3 separate regions of the Homo sapiens genome follow, and all the other regions are linked to region 3. Evidence: promoter capture Hi-C in human tissues and cell types (Jung and others, 2019). All regions are on one chromosome and are shown on one strand. The core of a region is centred on a gene start or on the middle of the fragment in contact, and the rest is flanking DNA. Distances in the headings are between cores, read along the strand shown. Region 1 overlaps LOC105377136 (a long non-coding RNA gene). Region 2 has its middle 28 kb from the start of LINC01548. Region 3 holds the start of OLIG1 (oligodendrocyte transcription factor 1).

Region 1 (2,700 bases), core at 167-2,666, 150 kb after region 3:
GCAATACCCTCACAGACACATCCAGAAACAATACCTTACCAGCCACCCTCAATCCCATCAAGTTGACACCTAATATTCACCATCACAGTTACCAAACTTACATTTGCTTTCCAAACTTTCAGATTTTATTGCTATTATCATTGCTTCTGTTCTCTTCATTCCGTAGGTTTATATGTCTTCCAAAATACCTCCCCTGTTGTTGCTTTAGTGGGGTTTCAGGAGGGACTGGAGGCTAACCCCTGCATTCAACTCGCCATCCTTGAGTGGAAATCCCCACTCATCTCCTCTCAATGGCCTTGGCTTTGGGACTCTTCCTTTCCTATCTTTATCATAAAAATGATCGCATAAACAAAACCAAAGCCAAAGACTTCTCCAGTGCCCATGACCATTTTATTAACTTTGCTTTAATGTGGGAAGAGAAATCTATTTCCTCATTTCTTCACTTGTTGTGGAGCATCTAACAGGAGCAATGAAGGGAAGAAGACTTCAGAGCAAATTCCAAAGAAGGACCGAAGCGATTCTTCCCAATCCTTGGAAAACAACCCTAGCCAGATAGATCTTGATAAGCCCAGTGAACAACCTCATGGTGCGTGCGCTGCCCCCTGGTGGGCAGGCTGGTGCTGCTTTTAGGGTTCTCAGCTCTCCAAGATGGTCCAGGGAAGACCAAACATTGCCAGAAGAGGAGAGATTTGAACTCAGACTAGAAGAGAAGAGGAGAAAAGACGTTCTATATCTAAAATTCTTTTTCATTTTTTACCTATCAGTGTGTCTATGCCAGCATCAATCAATACACCCACTGTGTGTGGCCTATGAAGATAGTGAGATGTTGGTCAAAGGGATATAGCATTACTGAAGGAACAGCTATTTCTCTGGCTTCTAGGATGTTGCTACCCTTGCACAGAAGGAAAGTGCCCTTTGTAAGGAAGAAGACATGTCATTCCACATAAATCGCACCACCAGTCATGTCATCTGCACTACCATTTTATTAACCATTTTACAGCTGCACTATCCAATATGGTGGCCACTAATCACATGTGACTATTTAAATTCCAATGGATTAAAATGAGGAATTCAGCTTCTCAGTCACTCTAGCCACATCTCAAGTGCTCAACAGCCATATGTGGCTACCACACTGGACAATGCAGGTAAAGAACATTCCTGTCATTCCAGCAAGTTCTACTGGACAGTGCTGCTCTAGAGCCCTTGAAGGTGCCTGGAAGTTTCTGTGATTCTCACAGACAGACTTAAGCACACCCTTATCTGTGTTCCTACAAGTCTCTGTTCCCACCTTGGCCACAACATTCATCACAGTCTGACTTGAAATGGAGTTAGTCAAATAATATGCCTGTCTCTTCTCTTTGACCATAAACTCACGAGGGCTGGGACCAAGAAACCATTATTTGCCATTATTCTTAGCAGAGCCTGGCAAAGAGAGGTCCTTGAAGAAATATTAGTTGAAGGAATGACTCGATTATAAACTCCCTGAGGGCAGGTCCAGAATATTCTGATTTTTGTATTCCCCACAGTTCCTCAAGCAAAGAGGGAACCTCAGTAAATATCTGTCGAGTGATGGCATGCTGTCACATCCATCAGCCTGAAGACAGACCTTAGAGTCACTGAGATAAAAAGCCAGATTGCTGTGGCCTCTGCACTCACCAAATGTCTCTTGCCTCTGCCCCTGCACATCTGTCTCCTCTGGCTTTGCACCCCCCAGCTTGCCTCCATGTAGCAGGTCTGATCACAGGTAGCTCCCATCCCACTGTCCACATACACCCAGACGCATGCAGGCCCCATGCTCATGCCTGCCTTTGTCGCTTGGACCTCCTCCTGCCCTTCCATCCTACTCACTCTGCAAGGTCGGCAGAAGCTCCGCCCTCTCCCTGCGTCTGCTCCACCCACTCAGGCCCAGCTGATTTCAGGGAATTGGCCTGGAGCCCTTACAAATCCCCAATGTCTCCCTTTTTTAAATTCTTCTTATAATTCTAGGTAACACACTATACTGTGTTCTTGAATTCTTCGTGACTATTTTCAGCCACTAGTTTTTCTTTTCAACCAGATGGCAAATTCCATGAGGATTTTACTCTTATTTTGTGCTGAAGTCCTTTCTAGAATGGAAAAGGCAAGGCGAAATCCCAGTCCAATCACATTTTATAAATAAAGAGCTGAGTGCAGTGGCTCACGCCTGTAATCCCAACACTGTGGGAGGCAGAGGCAGGAGGATCACATGAGCCCAAAAGTTCAAGACCAGCCTGGGCAACATAGCGAGACCCCATCTCTACAAAAAAAATTCTGAAAATTAACCAGCCATGGCAGCACATGCCTGTGGTCCCAGCTACACCAGTGGCTGAGGCCAAAGGATCACATGAGCCCAGGAGTTTGAAGTTACAGTGAGCCATGATCACACCACAGCACTCCTGCCTGGGCAACAGAGAGAGACTCTGTCTCTAAAAATAAAATAAATATGAATAAGGAAACAGAGCCAGGGATTAAGGGGACCTGCTCAGGGTCACTCAGGTGAGAGCCTTATCTGCCTCACTCATAGATTTGGACCATAGATTTGTGCAGAGAAAGTTCAACCAATATGGAAAGAACCATGCTTCCGAGGGACTCTGCGTCAGCTCCTTAAGCCCAACTGCACTGGTTTCCTGCCTGCCTTCAGCTCACCAGCTTAGCTAGAGGAGCAGCATCTACCTTAGGCCT
Region 2 (2,793 bases), core at 199-2,698, 130 kb before region 3:
GTTGCTGTCTTAGCAGGGCCTATAGCTCCTTTCATGTTAGGAAACGGCTCCCTCTGCTGGGTCTTTGTGTTAAAAGCCAAATGATGCCCTGAAAACAATGACTCATGTTTGGACGGTGCAGAACAAAGTGCTTAGATTCTTCTTTTACAGAATCTATATAGAATAAAGAATGTAGAATCTTTGTAGAGTTCTTTGTAGAATCGATCGCCTGTAATCAGGGTTGATATTGACAATATTTAGCAACTGTTGCGGCTCTCTACTGTGTCTGCCATTAACCCTGTGGATGCTGGACTGTGAGGCTGGGCTGGGGATGGTCCTGGGGTGGGACTCAGTGGACAGGGTAGTGTGGGGAGGATTGAGATGGGGACATTCAGGGAAGTGACTGTGTACCAACCAGTGCAGAAGGATCAACCAGGCTGGAAGATACAGTCTCAAGGCTGAAGATCCGTGTGTCATCATAAAAAAATAGTTTCCTAATATCTGTTCTATAAAACTATCTTTTTATAAAACATCTTCAACTTAGTCTATTGCTCCTGGAAAGAGCCCACAAACAAATATGCTCTTATAAGCAAAAAATCTCTTCCTGGTATGGTTCACGGCTCTCCAAGACATATTCCTTGTCAGTCGGATTCATGCTATTATCCTCACTCTCCTCCTGGCAGTCAGGTTGTGTTGCTGAAACTATAAACACCGCAAGTCTGGAGATAAGATTTGGTGAATTGCAGTTAGAATGTTGAATTTTCTATCACTTTCCGCCTTGTGTTATTGCTACAAAACCAAACCTATCTATCACGCAGCAAGCGCTAACCACAGCAGCCTCTGTGTTTCTACCCTAGTTTTTGATTCTCTATTGTCCTAGTCTCTTGCAGACTAGAAATTGTAAGAGGAGGCATGGTTAATTGAGGGTGGGGTAGAAAGAAGGAAAAGAGGAGGCTAGCAGGGTAGAAACATAGATGATATTGACACATTGAGAAGAGATTGCTAATCTACCATCGTCATTGCTGGGACTCGAGAAGGGCCTTACTGGGATCCAGCCAGGATTAGCTCAGCCACTGCTGCTGTGGTTAGGGTTTGCTACACGATACTCTTTTGAACACATGCCATGGGGACAGTTCTGCACTTCTGCTCCCGTCTGTGGTGTGACAAGGCCGGCTCTGTTCCCTTTTTCCTTCTCAGTCTTAGCTTTTGAGACGCCATGAAACTGACAGTACTGGTTCTGATTATGTGCAAAAACTGGATTCCAACTGCCAAGCATTTCTTTCTCAACTTCTGATTAGCTGCAACTTAGTAGTCATTCAACCTTGAATAAAACAATTTCACCTGAATATAAAAACACGTTTAAAATTAAGAAATTGCTTGCTTACACAATATATTATTCTTTCTTTTTCTGGCATCTTCCTTGCGGTTTAGATGTCATATCGTAACTTCTCCTTCCCCAAAGGGTCAATCCAACTCTAGTGTCTTGTTCCATGTGGGTCTTTTGTTCCTTCCACCCATAATCTAAAGGTCCCAAGGCACTTCCCCTATCCTCCCTCAGCCAAGCTTCATCCTTGGGCTCTGCCCTAGAGTAACTCAGCTGACATCTTAAATATGTCTGATCATGCTAGTTTGTATAATTCCTGTTTTCTGCATGCAGACTATGTGTTTTTCCTAACACACCAGCAAATATTTAGTAACTTTAAATTTATGTGCCAGTATTTTGCAAAGTGCAGTGGGGGGGTACAAAGAATTGAAAACCTGATCTCATCAACTGGAGTTGACTACACATATGTAGGTACGGGAAAGAGTAAGATATAGAGGGTACCACCTGTAGCTGGAGTACCTCCAGCACCGGGCGATGCTTCCCACTTCTCTCCTCTGTAATGCACAGGAAACATTATATTTCCAAATATGATGCATTCCCATGGGTAGCAGTTGCTCTGCCTCTTTCCCAACCAAGAAAGCCTATGGAATTTAGGGATTGTTGGGATGTGATCAAAGGGACAACCTTAAATATCCACTGTTTCTAAGAAGGATCCTTGTTTAGACACTTAGGAACAAATTAACTTATCCCCCTTATCCTGCCCAGCATCCATCAGTGGGTTAGGGAGGTATGGCAGAGGATGGCTGGCAAAGATAGGGCCATTTTCTGCATACAGATCACACTGCAGAGAAATAAACTGAGTTCCCTAGCGGCCTTTGCCTCTGCACTGCTGATTGCAGTTGGTGCCACACTGTGCCAAGTGATAAGCTCTTGAAAAGGAGCAGTTGCGTCGTGTCCTCAGAGGAGGACTGTGTGGAATGTTTGTGTCTGCATATTCAAGCTTGTTGCCAGATCTGCTGTTTCTGGGCCTCTCTCATTCTCAACTTCCTTGTGTTGAAAAATGAAGATATGAATTCCTCTCTCACAAGGGCTGTTGTGGAAATTCAATAAAAGTAATTTTGTGAGAGCTTTTAGCACGGTGCTGGCATTCAAGTGGTTGGTTGCTCAATAAATATTTGCTGGGTGAAAAAAATCTGATATTTACTTCAGAGTTCACTATGTCATTTTTCTTAATGAAAGTATATCCAAGTAGATATCTTGCTAAAATAAGAACAGCTGGAAACTATCTTAAGTGGAATTGCCTGAAGAAGAGGTGTGTCCATTTTCATTGTTTTGTAGAGTTTAGTTCATCCAGCATATCCCTCGCTTCCTTTCCTTCTTTATAGGGTTCCACAAGGAGCTTTGCTGTGGGCGAACTGTTAGCTGGAGCTGTGATAATTAGGCCAAGGTCATGCATCTGTCCCTTGTGGGCCAGTTAGCTCAGCTTGGCT
Region 3 (2,860 bases), core at 203-2,702:
TTGATAGGACCTGGCCGGCGGGAACAAGGGCGCCCGTGGCCTCTGGCGGAGGAGAAGGAAAAGAACCACCCCTCCGCCCCCGCCACTGCTCGAGCGCAGCCCCTAGTACTGGGAGCCGGCGTGCTCCGCTCCGGGGAGGTAGCGCTCGGGGATGGCCTCTCGCTGCACCCGGGGCGCGCCAACCACGGCAAGGCGCCCTAAGTTCTACATCGGCCCCGCGAAGCGCGCAACTCCAGGGACAAGGAGAGAGATGTGCTGGGTGAGAGCGAGCACTTTCTGCCTAAAGCCGCTGGAACCGACCCAGAACCCCAAACTGCCCCGAGGCGCCATCGAACATCCGCTCTGGTCACTTTAACGTCCCAGGGGTGGGGGCGGGGAAGGGGGTGCCCGACAGTCCCTTCCTCTGGACTGGAAGGTTCGAAATGCTTTCCTTGCTCGGCCTCGCTCTCCCAGACGCAGGGAGCAGGGGCGCGGAGAAGCTGAGCGAAGGGAGGCCGGGCCGAGGTCGCGCCCCAGGCCCAGGCCCGCCCTCACTTGGAGAATTGCGCCTGCACGGCGGCCAGGCCCAGGCTGGCCGGGACCAGGTGCGGGAACTTGCACACGGCGCAGGTGCAGAGGCCGGGGCCGCCTGCGCCGCCGCCGGGGAGAGCGAACTGGCCGCACGGCGGCTCGTCCAGCGCCAGCGACAGGTACTTGGCGGGGCGCAGCGCGTCGGGGGGTCCTACGGCGCCGGGCGCCAGCAGCACGGAGCCGGGCGCGGCGGCGAGCAGGGGCAGCCCGGCCAGCAGCAGGCGCGGCGCGGCGGGCCCGGCGCCCTCGCCCAGCGCGCGGCGCAGCTCCTGCAGCGAGCTGCCCAGCAGTAGGATGTAGTTGCGGGCGAGCAGCAGCGTGGCTATCTTGGAGAGCTTGCGGCCGGGCGCGCCCTGGCAGTGCGCCGCTGAGTAGGGCAGGATGACCTCGCGCAGGGCGTCCATGGCCAGGTTCAGGTCCTGCATGCGCTTCCGCTCGCGGCTGTTGATCTTGCGCCGCAGCTGCTGCTGCTGCTCCTCCTTGGCGTCCGGCCGGGCGCTGCCGCCCGGGTGCGCGCCTGACCCGGGCCCGGGGCCTGGAGGCTCGGCCGGCGCCTCCGGCTTCTCGCGCGCAGCCTTGGGGAGGAGGGGGGCCGTCGTGGAGGAGGAGGAAGTGGAGGAGGTGGAGGAGGTGGAGGAGGAGGAGGAGGAGGGCGGCTGCCTGTAGCCCACCAGCTCGTAGAGGGAGGCCCCGAGCTGCAAGTCTCCGGGCCGCTGTGGCCGCAGCATGGTCCCGGGGACCGCGTTCACGCGCGCCTGGGAAACCGCATAGTACATCTGGGAGGCGGTGGGGGCGGCCGAGGACGCCCTTCAGGAACGCCCTGGGGTGGGCCGGTCGGCAGGCCGCCCCTCCCCGCGGACCTGCGCGCGGGGAAACGATGGTGGGGCCCTGGCCCGCGCCCTACCCCTTTAAACCCGGCTTGGGAACCTGCGGGGCAGCGGGTGGCGGGGCGCAGCCAATGGAGGCGCGAGGCCGGGCGCAGCCGCGTGTTCATTGGCTGCTTGTGCCGGGGCCGCGCGGAGGTGCGGCTGGCACCGCTTTAGGAGGTTATTGTGAGCGCCTGTGCCAGCCGCGCGGGACAGGCCCCCTGAGCGGAGTAAGGGCGCCTTTTCAAGGCAAGCGGGGCTGTTGAAGGAGGACTGGTCGCACTGGTCAGGCTGCAACTCACGTGCCTTCCTCCAGCAACTGTCTACTCAAAAACAACCTCCCTCATATTTTTTTTTAACTGTGATCACATATTCATAACATAAAATTTACCGTCTTATGTTTAGAGTACTGTTCAGTAATGTTATATGCATTAGTGTGCACATTAAATTGATTTAAATTAAATTCACATTGTTGTGCAACCCATCTCCAGAACTCTTTTCAACTTGCAACCCTGAAGCTCCACCCATTAAACAACTCCCCACTCCCCCCGACCCAAGTTCCTGGAATTCACTCTTCTGTTCTGTCTCTATGAATTTGTTCTACTCTAGGTCCCTCATATAAGTAGAATCATACAGCACTTGTCTTTTAGTGACTGGCTTCTTTCACTTAGCATATTGTCGTCAAGGTTTATCCATGTTGTAGCATGTATCAAAGTTTCTTCCTTTTCAAGGCTGAATAATATTCCAGTATATGGATATACCACATTTGGTTTATCCATTCATTCGTTGATGGACATTTGGGGTGCTTTTGGTTGTTGCGAATTATGCTGCTATGAACATGAGTGTATCATGTTTTTTTTTTCTTAAAATACATAATTTCCTGCCAGGTTCAGGTCGCTAAATTTCTGGACTAAATGACAAGTAGCATTAGGATATTTCCTCCCTGCTGCTCCCAACCTCCTTCCCCATCCCTCTGATTGAAAGGTCTTTAGGGACAAAGGAGCCTTTGGGTCGGGTTTCTATCCTCCCCGAAAGGGATGGTCTATCAGCAACTTGACATTTGCTTAAGCAAAAGTCACTCAGAAATTGGCCTCTTATTAGAAACAAAACAAAACACCCACATAGTCCTATCGGTTGAGGGTGGGAATGAATCATTTTATTTGCCAAATAGAATAGCATTACTTGGTGTCTATGGACATTTTCTGCCCCCAGCACCAGTGCATGCTACTATAACTTGTCAATGTCCTGGGGAAGAGGGCATCTTGGTGGCTGTGCTTGCTGGTTTCAGGGCTGCTTTGTTCTGGTTTTCTTCCACCAATATTTGCCACATGGGTTCACTCTGATCTTTGCTTCTGACCCCCAGCTCTGCCTGTAGCATCCTGCCTATGCCTCAGGTTCAGCTCCAACCTTGCTTTCTTCTGGAA

Evidence for each region. Contacts are between HindIII fragments. The study calls those that stand out against the background at their distance.
Region 1: a fragment that was not itself captured here is called in contact with the fragment with the promoter of OLIG1 in region 3 in 1 of the 25 tissues and cell types used here (lymphoblastoid cells).
Region 2: a fragment that was not itself captured here is called in contact with the fragment with the promoter of OLIG1 in region 3 in 1 of the 25 tissues and cell types used here (hippocampus).

Annotation. Positions count from the first base shown.
Region 1 is chr21:32,919,769-32,922,468 of GRCh38, reverse strand. The region is part of intron 4 of LOC105377136 (a long non-coding RNA gene); the gene reads right to left. Among named protein-coding and RNA genes, the nearest start is that of LINC01690, 38 kb to the left of the region's middle. RefSeq lists an enhancer at 2,662-2,700. The HindIII fragment of the contact is 7,002 bases long and covers 1-2,700 here.
Region 2 is chr21:33,197,215-33,200,007 of GRCh38, reverse strand. No RefSeq gene overlaps it. Among named protein-coding and RNA genes, the nearest start is that of LINC01548, 28 kb to the right of the region's middle. The HindIII fragment of the contact is 3,160 bases long and covers 1-2,793 here.
Region 3 is chr21:33,068,733-33,071,592 of GRCh38, reverse strand. It overlaps OLIG1 (oligodendrocyte transcription factor 1), which reads right to left and starts at 1,452. Exons shown (of 1, transcript NM_138983.3): 1 at 1-1,452. The coding sequence starts at 1,346. The coding sequence ends at 531. The HindIII fragment of the contact is 10,124 bases long and covers 1-2,860 here.